Regions from separate parts of the Homo sapiens genome. Here all the other regions are linked to region 3. Evidence: promoter capture Hi-C in 16 types of primary human blood cells and fetal thymus (Javierre and others, 2016). All regions are on one chromosome and are shown on one strand. The core of a region is centred on a gene start or on the middle of the fragment in contact, and the rest is flanking DNA. Distances in the headings are between cores, read along the strand shown.

Region 1 (3,119 bases), core at 518-3,017, 680 kb after region 3:
AGCTGGGACTATAGGTGTCTGCCACCATGCCTGGCTAATTTTTAAAGTTTTTGTAGAGACAGAATCTCACTATGTTGCCCAAGCTAGTCCTGAACTCCTGGCCTCAGGCAGTCCTCCCGCTTGGGCCTCCAAAGTGCTGGGGTTACAGGCTTGAGCTACTGTGTCTGACCGAGTGAGAAATTTTAAATTGCTGGGTGGACTTAAATCTAATGCCCCATCCATCCATCCATCCATCCATCCATCCATCCATCCATCCATCCATCTAATTTGAAGAATAAAATGTCACCCCCTTCCCACTCCACAGGTTTTGGGGAAAGTAATGAGTAAGTAGAAACAGGCTGTTTGGAAAAGCCACTGTGACTGTGGGCCAGCTTCACCTTTGTTTTGGAGAGCAAAGGTTGCTCTTCTGGTTACGGGGCCACCAGCGCCATGGTGGTGAACAGGAACCCACATAGTGGCTTTCTCTTTCCCCTCAAAGTAACCCACATTTTATTACCAACTATATATAGAAATTGTTTCACTGGGATCTGAAATGGAGCCACCCTGGAGTGAAATGCAGCAGTTGCCTGATACATCACAGGAGAAGAGCAAAGGCAACTTAGCACATCCAAGACCAAGGAAGGAGCAGGGGAGGAAGAAGTCGGGAGCAAGAAGTCTGGGGTGGGGAAAGGAGGAGGGTGGAAGGGATGCAGCAAGAGAGAAGTTTCAGGTCCTGAGGGAGAAGTGAGCCTTTTTTTTTTTTTTTAAGGCAGAGTCTCGCTCTGTTGCCTAGGCTGGAGTGCAGTGGTGCCATCTTGGCTCACTGCAACCTCCGCCTCCCGGGTTCAAGCAATTCTCCTGCCTCAGCCTCCCCAGTATCTGGGTCTACAGGCACATGCCACTGCACCTGGCTAATTTTTATATTTTTAGTAGAGATGGTTTCACCATGTTGGCCAGGCTGGTCTCGATCTCCTGATCTCAGGCAATCCACCTGCCTTGGCCTCCCAAAGTGCTGGGAGTACAGGTGTGAGCCACTGCACCTGGCTGAGAAGTGAGTCTTCAATCAGCCCTGTCCTTGGGGTCAGCAACTGTTAAAGTAGCCCCAGGATTTCTGTGGGTTAAAACCCCACAGTTTATGTCTCTTTCATGCACATTACATTATTTGATCCTGTGAGGTGGGAAGGGCGGCTATTATTACCCCCATTATGAAGGAGGGAAACAGGGTTCAGAGAAACCTGTGACTTTCCCAAGTTACACACCCAGGAAAGCTTTCTGATGTCCAATCCTGGGTCTCAGCCTCATGGCCGATAATGTACGCTGGTGTGCAGCTTCATTATTCACAAAGCAGCTTAAAAGGGGCAGACTTTATTATTCCCATTTTCACAGACAAGTAAACTGGGATTTGGAGAGGCTATGTGATTTGGCCAGGGCCACACTGCAAACCACAAACAGCCCTAGGTCTTCCAACTCCTGGCCCGGCCCTCCTTGCTTCCCTCTATGGCGCTTCCAGAGAAAACAATGATAAAACTAAAAAGGCCAATGGAGTTGTTTGACTCTAAAAGCACAACCTCAGCCAGGCACGGTGGCTCACACCTGTAATCCCAGCACTTTGGAAGGCTGAGGCGGTGGATTGCCTGAGGTCAGGAGTTCGAAACCAGCCCAGCCAACATGCTGAAACCTGTCTCTCCAAAAAATACAAAAATTAGTTGGGCGTGGTGGCCGGTGCCTGTAGTCCCAGCTACTCAGGAGGCTGAGGCAGGAGAATTGCTTGAATCTGGGAGGCGGAGGTTGCAGTGAGCCGAGATCACACCATTGCATCTCTACTAAAAATACAAAAATTAGCCGGGCGTGGTGGCCGGTGCCTGTAGTCCCAGCTACTCGGGAGGCTGAGGCAGGAGAATTGCTTGAATCCAGGAGGCAGAGGTTGCAGTGAGCCGAGATCACACCACTGCGCTCCAGCCTGGGTGACAGAGCAAGACTCCGTCTCAAAATAAATAAACATTAAATAAAATAAAAGCACAACATCGCCCTCAATTTTCTCAACATTCCCTGTCTTCATGGCTTTTCTAGTGTTTCATAGTGAATGTGCCTAACACAGAAGGGTTCCTTTCCACAGTGTGGGGGGAGCTTCGGACATCTGCACTCCAGAGCTACTATTTCAATGGAAAACAATCGTCTTGATCCAGTTTGCACCCCATCCTTTGATTTGATCAGTTCACCTAAATGCCAACCCCTGGTTCCTTACCAAATACTAGTCTAAGTTGCAGCGAAGTGGAATGTCCCAGCAGGCCTGACAGCTGTACATTATGAAGCTTGTATATCCACGGTGCACCACTGCACATGTAGAGGGGATCTAGCTTAGCACATGGTTTGGGGGATCGCTTCTCTAAAAGGTGTTTCAAAGTTAGGCCTTTGCTGAGTTCTTTGCAACAGAGGTCACTGAAAATATTGGACCAAATGTAGGTTTCCACTGTCATGTTCCTTTGCCCATGCCAAATGGACACACGCACAGCTTAATCTGGCCTGATACTACTTTTATGTGATACAGGCTGAGCAGGTTCACTGCAGGCGTTGGGCATTTGCTCTGAGGGACAGGGTGGTGGGTTACTGCAGATGGCCAGGAGGTTTGCAGGTAGGGATGAATAGAGGTGTTTGTCAGGAAGTGAAGGCTTGGGGGGCCAAGATCAAAGATATTGAATGTAGAATGCAGAGGGGAGCCTGTCAGGAGCTGATGGTTAGGAAGTTACAGAACGTTCTGCCACGCCCTTATAAATCTGCCTGTCACACTTCTTTCTCCCTGAAAGTACAACACAAGAAAACATACACCCGAAGGTCAGGGAAGTTGGGTGTCAAGGTGGACTTCACGTTGACTGTTATGAAGGTCATGAAGACTAATGAAATCTATGTGCTCCTGTTGACTGGAAATGCTCTGCAGCTTGGCGGGAGGTATATGTAGTGCTTCCCACTGCTAGTGAATACTCACTCTCAAGGGGGTTTCTTCAGGTGGTTTTGGTAACCAGAGGACATTTGCATCCATGCTGCCTGAAAGAATATGGGTGCTAGGTGAATCAGAACAGTCTTGGCACGGAAACTCGTTTGCTTGCAAGACATAAAGTGAGGAGAATATTTCCACGTAACAT
Region 2 (3,140 bases), core at 45-2,544, 660 kb after region 3:
GATTGAGACCACCCTAGCCAACATGGTGAAACCCCATCTCTACTAAAAATACAAAAATTAGCCGGGTGTAGCCGGGCGCGGTGGCTCACGCCTGTAATCCCAGCACTTTGGGAGGCCGAGGCGGATGGATCACGAGGTCAGGAGATCGAGACCATCCTGGCTAACACGGTGAAACCCTGTCTCTACTAAAAATACAAAAAATTAGCCCGGCGAGGTGGCGGGCGCCTGTTAGTCCCAGCTACTCGGGAGGCTGAGGCAGGAGAATGGCGTGAACCCGGGAGGCAGAGCTTGCAGTGAGCCAAGATGGCGCCACTGCATTCCAGCCTGGGCGACAGCGAGACTACGTCTCAAAAAAAAAAAAAAAAAAAAAAAAAAAAATTAGCCGGGTGTGGTGGCGGGTGCCTGTAATCTCAGCTACTCAGGAGGCTGCGGCAGGAGAATCACTTGAACCCGGGAGGCGGAGGTTGCAGTGAGCCTGGATTACACCACTGCACTCCAGCCTGACAACAGAGTGAGACTCCGTCTCAAAAAAAAAAAAAAAATTTATTTAAAAAGTGATTCAGAATTATTTCCTTGAGGTATAATTCCCAAAGTGAAAGGCTGCAGCTTTATAGCTCTTGCTACACATTTCTTTCCAGACCGTGTAACAGAAAGACCAAACCAATCTACTGTGCTAATATTGAATATAAGCACCACTCACCTACTTTAGGAAAAACAGAAAATCACTATCAGAACACCCGTGCAGAATTAAGTATTCAATACATCAATAACAACCTCAGTGAATGATCTTCAGCCAGCAACCTCTGCTCTCACCCGTTCTGTCCTTTGATCAATAGTAATAATAGTTTTAAGATTTTTCAGGTGGGTACAGTGGCTCATGCCTGTAATTCCCGCACTTTGGGAGGCTGAGGCGGGTGGATTGCTGGAGCTCAGGAGTTCAAAACTAGCTGGGTAACATGGTGAAACCCTGCTTCTACAAAAAATTAAAAACAATCAGCCAGGTGTGTGCCTTTAGTCCCAGCTACTTAGGAGGCTGAGGTGGGAGGATTGCTTGAGCCTGGGAGGTCAAGGCTGCAGTGAGCTGAGATTGTTCCACTGCACTCCAGCCTGAATGACAGAGTGAGACCCTGTCTCAAAAAAAAAAAAAAAAAAAAAAAAAAGAATTTTTTTTTCTTATGTGCCAGGCACTCTTCTAAACACTTTGATTTACCTTATAGCATTTCATTCTTACAATACCTTAAGAGAGGCACGGCCGGGCGTGGTGGCTCACGCTTGTAATTCCAGCACTTTGGGAGGCCCAGGTGGGTGGAACACGAGGTCAGGAGTTCGAGACTAGCCTGACCAACATGGTAAAACCCGGTCTCTACTAAAAATACAGAAATTAGCTGGGTGTGATGGCAGGCGCTTGTAATCCCAGGTACTCGGGAGGCTGAGGCAGGAGAATCACTTGAACCCTGGAAGCGGAGGCTGCAGTGAGCCGAGATCATGCCACTGCACTCCAGTCTCGGCGACAGAGTGAGACTCCGTCCCCTGCCCCCCCCAAAAAAGAGAGGCACTACTAGTTTCTCTTTTCTACAGGTAAGTTTGATTAACAAAGCTGTAATCAATGGATATTTTGGACTATTCCTTGTCAACTAACATTATTCTGCATATACATATCAAATTCCCACATACTTGCCATTTTAAACTGTTAGGTAATATTCAATCATTAATGTGCTGTAGATTATTTAGCTATTCTCGTACTGTCGACCTACTATTTGTCTTTTAAAAAACTGATTTAAAAAGTGATTTAGAATTATTTCCTTGAGGTATAATTCCTGAGGCTCAGAGATACAATGAGTTGCTTAAGGTCACAGAGCTAGAAAACATCAGATCTGGGGATGTTTTCAGAGCCCCTGTCTTAACTCTGGGCTCTACCACCTTGGAATCCTGGAAGATTCTGCTACAGATAGGAGGAATCTGAAAGAGCCAGCGGGACCTCTCCTTTCCCACTGTCTGTGGGCATTTCAGCAGGGCACCTGACTCCCCTAGGGAGAGGAAGAAACACTTTTTAGGTGTTAGGCAGCTGGCAGGTACCAGTCAGCAGCTCATACCATTGCCTAAGACCTCAATCACAAAGAGTTGGGGGGCCCCAGTACCAAAGAAATGAAAAGCCAAATCCTTTTACTTTTGTGCATTTCCACCACAGGAAGTCCAGGCCAAGGCCTCAGCAGCTGACTGTTTCAAGACCACCTGCTTCCCCACAGCCTCCTTAAACATCCAGGTGCAACTCCAGGGGCAGTCCTGGAGATCAGCCAAGCAGGGAGCTTGCAGACACCAGCTGTCAGCATCCCAAAAATCTGATAGGCGCGGGGAACCCTGGTGTCTCCAGTTTGCTCCCCTCACTCTCTGAAGATAAAATCCATCAGGTTCTCAGGCAATCCCATTTCAGTAAAAATTCAGTGTTCCCTTCCCCATACGCTTATTCATGGAGATATTTTCATACTTGCAGCATCAGTGTCCTGTATTTAAAACCTTAGCACAGATGCCTCATGAATGGCTGAGCCGGCTGCAAATACTCAAGGTGGCTCCCTGCACCATTTTTAGAAAGAACTTGTTGAGAATTTTCCAATATGGCTTTTAAGGGACTAACCCCCTCCCAATAGACTTTGAGCACCACAGTCGCTTGTGGCCTGCCATGGTTGTGTAAGCACACTTGGGCTTAGGCCAGCACCTGGCTTACTCACTTGACAGCATGGAGTCTCCTTCAGCCCCCACTTTTGAGGGCAGGTGCTTGGCAAGTCATTAGCCGGTTTCTATCTTATCAGTGGGTTCAATCTGCTTTTGTAGCTGCAGTCAGGATGCTGCCTATAAACACCCTGATTTCCAAGGGGCCTTCTTCCAAAAGTAAACTGGAGTTGGAGAGAGAGGCAGGGCTGGCACCTTGGCACTGGGAGCCGTGCCAGGAGCCAGGCCAGCTGTACTTACAGCCGCTTGGTGAGGTAACGATTCCCCCCAGCTGTGGAAATGGAGACAGACTGCATTTGAGAAACTTGCCCAAAGTCATAAGACTATTAAGTGGAGGAGCTTGGGCTAGAACCTGGGCCTGTTGTCTCATTTGTCACCATCGTAGTTAGATACTAAACTTACTGCCATGGTGT
Region 3 (3,422 bases), core at 196-2,695:
TCTCCTCCGCCCAAGCCCTGTCCCCTCCCCCGCCCCGGCCTGGGTCGGAGCCAAACCCCACAGGAATGCAGCCCGGTCACATGCGCTGCGGCGGTGGACGTGCCTCTCCCCCCGCGCCCCAAAGAGACCCAGCGCCATCTTGCCCTGACGCAGTTACAAAAGTCACGGGAGAAATCCTGTCTCCTCCTCCGCGCCAGCGCCCCAAAGTTTTGCAGAGGCCGAGCCGGGGCCCTCACCTCGCGCAGGGACAGTAGAAAATGGTCAGGGAAGAGCCTTGCGATTCCCTTCGCCACTGCTTGGGTTCCATATCGGCCGCGGCAGCAACGATCACCATCGTCACTTCTCCCTCTCTACCTTTGCAACAGCCTCCCCCTACGGCTTTGGCCCCACCCGCTGCTGCAGGATGAGGTCATCGCCAGCCAACCACGACGCGCCCGACAGGACACATCAGGCGCTGATTGGCTGCCGAGACCGCCTCTGCCTCTCCCCACTCCGCTTCCCCCAGCGCTCTGGGTCGCTGCGGGGCAAGGGGAAGACGGAAACCATTTCGGGGAAAGACCCCCAAAACAAGAGCCGGAATCGCCGTGTCATTTTAGTGGGGAAACCCTTCTTTTATTCTTTGGTCTCCCCCTTTTTTCTTCGAGATCACTGTCTGTCCCTCCCTCGTTTAATCACCGCCATATAAAGGAATTCCCACTCCCCTCCCCGCACATTGTCCCACCGGTGGGGAAATCCTTCCCCGAGGCCAAGAGAAGTATAGGAGGCAGCGACGGCAACTGCACCGACGGCAACGGCAGCTTTTTACCCCGAAGCACGGTGGCAGGGAGGCGGCGTTGACGGTGGCTGCATTTTTCCGGCTGCTTCTCCCCCCGACCTCTTCCGTTTCTTGCTCCTCCATCGAGACAGCACTAGACTCGCCAGCTCCGCTTTTATCCGGTGCCCGGAGCCTGCGCACTGGAGCCTCCTCAGCCCCTAGTGGGCGTCGAGTGACACCCCAACCGGGTTCACCCAGCGCTGGAGGCCAGACTGGGCTGGGGGAGGAGGGGGAGAGGAACGGGGAGACGGGACTGGGGTTGTTTGGGAGGGGGAGAAGGTGTATCGCTTTCGGAGGGTGACGGGAGGGAGTTCGTTCCCAAGCCCTGCTGTCCTTGTTCGTGCACCCAATACTGGCATGCCCAAGCTCACCTATATCCAGACTTGAGGGCCACTGGGGGAAAGGGGGAAAGAACCAGTCCCACCGAATACCGACACTTCCTCAAACCTTCGGTGGATTGTTGAATGCATCTGTTGTCAGAAAGACAGAGATTCCGTCCCCCTCACCGCCTCCAGTTTGCTATCTTCGAGCCTCCGCGGAGAGGCAACGGCGGGCGGCAGCCCACAAGCAAAATGGCGCCGGGCAGCTTCATCCCCTCCCCCTCTGCCCCTGCGGAGCGGGACGGGCGTACCCCGTGCACTTGCCGCCGCCGCCGCCGCCGCCGCGGCCGCCGCCGCCGCCGCCGCCATTTTCCCAGAGCGAGAGGCAGTGACACTGAGCGGGCGCAGGGGGCCGAGTCGGAGACCGTGCCGGAGTTCGGGAGCGGCAACAGAGTGGGCATAGACACTCCGAGCAGCCTCGCCGTCGTCTCTGCGTTCCTGTTGACTGCCTGGCTGCCCCCTCCCCTACTCCTCGGTTCCTGGTGAAGAGGCTGCGCGCTGCTGTTTGGGGAGGGGGTGTGTGGAGCCGGGTCCTGTGTCCGCAGTGGCTGCTGTCGGGGGGTCGCCTGTTCGCGGAGGTGCGGAGAGACTCCTTGGGGGTCGAGCACATAACGGGGTTCGGGTGTCTCGTGTGTGAACATCACAGGTTAGTGCCTGTCGTCTCCATGGGAGTTCCTGGGGCTTGCGGGGTTGGGGTACTTGTGTTTCAAGGGGGAGGGAGGTCTCTCATCTTTATCCTTAAGCTGGGGGAGCCGACGTTGACTCTCAGGTGTCTTTGCCGGCGCAAGACGTTGCTTGCTTAAATCGAATTTATTCTTTCTTCTCCCTGACCCTAGAAATGGAGCATTATGGCGGGTTTTAGGGTTGGGAAAGGGGTAACTGGCAGTTAAACCCCCTTGAGAGTGGGGGAGTTAGGGAGGGGGCGCACTCCTCATTGGCAGCGGGTTAAGGCCGCTTGAGTGAAGACGGAGGCTTGTGACTGTTAGTAGGGTTTGTGTCGAAGTGGTCCCAGGAGCTGCCAGCGCTCCCTTTTCTCAACCGCGTCTTGTTCAGGTGCTGAAAAGCCATATAGGCCCCATTTTCTTCTTCCATTTCTTGACGGGCAGTCTCTGGTATAATGTGCACATGAATACGAAGGGGGTAAGAAGAACGCCCTGGGCATCTCTCTTTGTGGGAGAGCGAGACAGCTAGCTCCTCATCCTCTCCTGGAGAGGGTAAACCCGCCCCTGAAGTGGTCACCCCAGTACCCAGCCTTCTCAGTCTCCTCCCCCACTCCTTTTGCATTACCGCCGTCCTTTACTGTGCCGGAGCCTTAGGATCTACAATATGGCTCATTTCAGAAAAGCTTATTTTGACCAAGGGATTGGCACAAATTCTATGGCAGCAGACACAGATGAGAAACAAACGGTTCACTGTGCTAAACGGGGTGGGGGTGAGAAAAAAACAATCCAGAGTGCTCTCTTCTACTGGCCTTAGTTCCGTATAGATCCGTCCTTGCTGGGCTCTGTCTTAAGAACGATACAATTTAAAGTCAAAGAGGAATCGCTAGAGTTAGCTCTAGAGTAAACCTCGTTTTGCCTATTTTGTTCCCTTTTTAGAGATGTGAATAAGGTAAGGTGTTTGGAGTTCTGGAGACCTTGGAGAGAATTAAGTGAGGTGCATTCAACTCGAGGCTGGAGACATGAATACCTATTTGGAAAATAGTCTGTTTTTTTCCTTCAATTTCTGAGATGGGGAGTAAAAACTGAAATTTCCCTCTTTTGTCCTTTACAGATTCTAAAAATGGCGGCCCCAGGCTGATGTTGTGGTAATCTAATCAGCTCGGGTCCTCCACACCCCATGCAGTGCGTTTGTCTGCAGCATATTACAGGCTTATTATGTTTACATGAAAAGACTGGGCTGTTTTTCCTTCCCCGAGCCAGTTACAAAAATGTGTTGATTTTTTACTGCAAATTACAGTGCTGTGTTTTAGCTGATTAATTTGATTCGTTTTTCCTGAAAGGCAAATAAAATGTCTCCACTTTTGAAAAAAAAAAACAGCCTTGCAAATTTCAGTGGTGATGATGGGTGCGCTTCAACATTAAAAAAAAATTATTTGGGTACCAATAATAGTTTTTGTTTGGTTTAATCCAACCATCTTTTATTCAATATGCCAAAGTAGATTAAAATGTTTAGTAACTGTATAAGTATCATCTATTTTATATGATTAAATGTTTCAATCTAGAGTA
Region 4 (3,197 bases), core at 108-2,607, 530 kb after region 3:
TCAGGCTTCAGAAAGTAACCTTTGTTATCTATCTCTACTTTTTGTCATTCATCTTTTACCCACTGTAATCAGGTTTGTTTCCCTAATGACCACAGAAACTTTTACTGAAGTTCCTTATTGAACCTTAAATTCAGCATGTCCAAAACTATACTGATCCATTTTTTAGAGGCTTGTCTGTCTTGGTTAGATAATGGCACCACTATTTGCCTGTCACCCAGACCTGAAGCCTAGGAGTCCTAGATTCCTTCTTATCATCCTCTCATCCTCTATCCCATCACCAAGTCATCTGAGTTCAGCCTCAACATCTCTGGTATCCATCCCATCTTTCCCACTCTTTTTTTTTTTTTTTTTTTTTTGAGTTGGAGTTTCACTCTTGTTGCCCAGGCTGGAGTGCAATGGCACAATCTTGGCTCACTGCAACCTCCACCTCCTGGGTTCGAGTGATTCTCCCGCCTCAGGCTCCCAAGTAGCTGGGATTATAGGCATGTGCCACCACGCTCGGCTAATTTTGTATTTTTGGTAGAGATGGGGTTTCTCCATGTTGGTCAGGTTGGTCTCAAACTCCCAACCTCAGGTGATCTGCCCGAAAGTGGATCTTGGCCTTCCAAAGTGCTGGGATTACAGGCGTGAGTCACTGCTCCCGGCCCATCTTTCCCACTCTTGCTGATACCATGTTAGTTTAGGCAGATTGGGAGCTTTGTAGAAATGCAGAATCTCAGTCTTACTTCAGACTTACTGTATCAGAATCTGTATTACAACAAGATCTTTAGGTGATTAATGTGCCCATTCATTAAATATAGCCTGTCTATTTTATTGCATTAATCCCACTGTTGAAATTATTTGCTTACAACACTCTTATATACCAAAGTGACCTGAAGGACGGATGCTGTGTCTTGTTTATCTGCATATTTCTAGCGCAGTGCCTGGTACAGAATAAGTATCTAATCACTGTTGATTGAAATTATTCTATAATGTTCTTTGTATTTTGCTGATGACTAATATTTGTATATGTTTTCCCACATACTATAAGAAAAATTCACTTAATAAATGCCATTTTCTTTTTTTTTTTTTTTTTGAGATGGAGTCTTCCTCTGTCGCCCAGGCTGGAGTGTGGTGGTGTGATCTCAGCTCACTGCTACCTCTGCCTTCCGGGTTTCAAGTGATTCTCCTGCCTCAGCCTCCTGAATAGCTGGGATTACAGGCATGCGCCACCATCCTCAGCTCATTTTTGTATTTGTATTTATTTTATTTTATTTTTTGAGACAGAGTCTCACTCTGTCGCCCAGGCTGGAGTGCAGTGGAGCGATCTCAGCTCACTGTAACCTCCGCCTCCTGGTTTCACCAATTCTCCTGCCTCAGCCTCTTGAGTAGCTGGGATTACAGGCTCATACTACCACACCCGGCTAGTTTTTGTATTTTTATTAGAGACGGGGTTTCACCATGTTGGCAAGTGTGGTCTCAAACTCCTTACCTCAAGTGATCCACCAGCTTCTGCCTCCCAAAGTGCTAGGATTACAGGCATGAGACACTGTGCCCGGCTGAATTTTTGTATTTTTAGTAGAGACAGGGTTTCACCATGTTGGCTAGGCTGGTCTCGAACTCCTGACCTCCAGTGACCTGCCCTCCTTGGCCTCCCAAAGTGCTGGGATTACAGGTGTGAGCCACTGCACCTGGCCACTAAATGCCCTTTCTAAAGGCATTGCCTGGATATCATCTCATCAAGTCAGTGCTTCTTAGCCTGGCCTTAATTCAGAATCACCTGGGGTATGTTGGCAAAATATAGATGCTCAGCCTGTTAGAATGAGATCTTTGTTTCCTTTTTTTTTTTTTTTTTGATATGGAGTCTCGCTCTGTCACCCAGGCTAGATGGCAGTGGCGCAGTCTCGGCCCACTGCAACCTCTGCCTCCCGGGTTTAAGAAATTCTCTGCCTCAGCCTCCCAAAGTGCTGGGATTACAGGTATGTGCCACCATGCTCAGCTAATTTTTTTGTATTTTTTAGTAGAGACAAGATTTTGCCATCTTGGCCAGGCTGGTCTTGAACTCCTGACCTTGTGATCCACCCACCTTGGCCTCCCAAAGTGCTGGGATTACAGGTGTGAGTCACCGCACCCAGCTTGCATTTTTTTTTTTCTTCTTTGAGGAGTCTTGCTCTGTCACCCAGGCTGGATGGAGTGCGGTGGTGCAGTCTCAGCTCACTGCAACCTCCTCCCGGTTCAAGTGATTCTTGCCTTGGCCTCTCTAGAGCTGGGATTACAAGGTGTGTGCCACCAAACCTGGCTAGTTTTTGTATTTTTAGTAGAGATGGGGTTTCATCATGTTGGCCAGGCTGGTCTTGAACTCCTGACCTCAAATGATCCGCCTGTCTTGGCCTCCCAAACTGCTGGGATTACAGGTGTGAGCCACCGTGCCCGGCCCTTCCTTTGCTTTGAAGGAAAATATTTAGCAGGTAGAGCATGTATTAATAAGTTTTCTCGGCCTGGCACGGTGGCTTATGCCTGTAATCCCAGCACTCTGGGAGGCTGGGGTGGGCGGATCATGAGGTCAGGAGTTCGAGATCAGCCTGACCAACGTGGTGAAACCCCGTCTCTACTAAAAATACAAAAATTAGCCGAGCGTGATGGCACGTGTCTATAATTCCTGCTATTTAGGAGGCTGAGGCAGGAGAATCACTTGACCCCGGGAGGTGGAGGTTGCAGTGAGCTGAGATCACGCCACTGCACTCCAGCCTGGGTGACAGAACGAAACTCTGTCTCAAAAAAATAAAATAAGTTTTCTCTAGCTGGATCCTCTGCTGAGCCTATGGAGGCAGACCTCTAGATGCTTACTGGAGCCAGTGAGTTAAGTCCCTTTCTCTACATGTATGTGTATATGTATGTATGCATATATTTTTTATTTTATTTTTATTTTTTTGTTTCACTTATTGTTTTCAACACAAAGGCATACTTCTTCCTGCTATTTGTGTGTATATAAAACAGCATGTTATGTTTGGATTGATTAGTACAGGATGAAGAAATCAAACCTTTTTTTGAAGGTTTTGATGGATGATTTTCAGTTCTGTTACAAAAAATGTGTATTTTGAAGGGAACGAACTAATAAAAAAGGTTACATACAGCCTGGGCAACATAGTGAGACCTTATTTCTATTTAAAGAAAAAAAAAAAAGAAAAGCCAGGTGTAGTGGTGCATATGTGTAGTCC

What was found. The method cuts DNA at HindIII sites, captures the fragments that hold promoters and counts their contacts. A CHiCAGO score of 5 or more calls a contact.
Region 1: a fragment that was not itself captured here is called in contact with the fragment with the promoter of KMT2E-AS1 in region 3 in 1 of 17 cell types (fetal thymus); the score reaches 5.2 in fetal thymus.
Region 2: a fragment that was not itself captured here is called in contact with the fragment with the promoter of KMT2E-AS1 in region 3 in 1 of 17 cell types (fetal thymus); the score reaches 5.0 in fetal thymus.
Region 4: a contact is called between a fragment that was not itself captured here and the fragment with the promoter of KMT2E-AS1 in region 3, in 5 of 17 cell types (erythroblasts, neutrophils, total CD4 T cells and 2 more). The highest score is 6.4, in erythroblasts.

What each region holds. Positions count from the first base shown.
Region 1 is chr7:105,693,321-105,696,439 of GRCh38, forward strand. All of the region lies in intron 3 of ATXN7L1 (ataxin 7 like 1), which reads right to left. Among named protein-coding and RNA genes, the nearest start is that of EFCAB10, 110 kb to the left of the region's middle. RefSeq lists an enhancer at 1,988-2,751. The HindIII fragment of the contact is 1,044 bases long and covers 1,246-2,289 here.
Region 2 is chr7:105,670,756-105,673,895 of GRCh38, forward strand. The region is part of intron 3 of ATXN7L1 (ataxin 7 like 1); the gene reads right to left. Among named protein-coding and RNA genes, the nearest start is that of EFCAB10, 91 kb to the left of the region's middle. The HindIII fragment of the contact is 4,917 bases long and covers 1-3,140 here.
Region 3 is chr7:105,012,696-105,016,117 of GRCh38, forward strand. It overlaps KMT2E-AS1 (KMT2E antisense RNA 1), which reads right to left and starts at 1,446. Exons shown (of 1, transcript NR_024586.1): 1 at 1-1,446. KMT2E (lysine methyltransferase 2E (inactive)) reads left to right here and starts at 1,510. Exons shown (of 27, transcript NM_182931.3): 1 at 1,510-1,840. RefSeq lists enhancers at 60-429, 519-1,058, 850-899, 1,220-1,339, 1,600-1,829 and silencers at 1,050-1,099, 1,450-1,539. The HindIII fragment of the contact is 4,615 bases long and covers 1-2,537 here.
Region 4 is chr7:105,539,022-105,542,218 of GRCh38, forward strand. The region is part of intron 3 of RINT1 (RAD50 interactor 1); the gene reads left to right. Among named protein-coding and RNA genes, the nearest start is that of RINT1, 8.4 kb to the left of the region's middle. The HindIII fragment of the contact is 4,900 bases long and covers 1-3,197 here.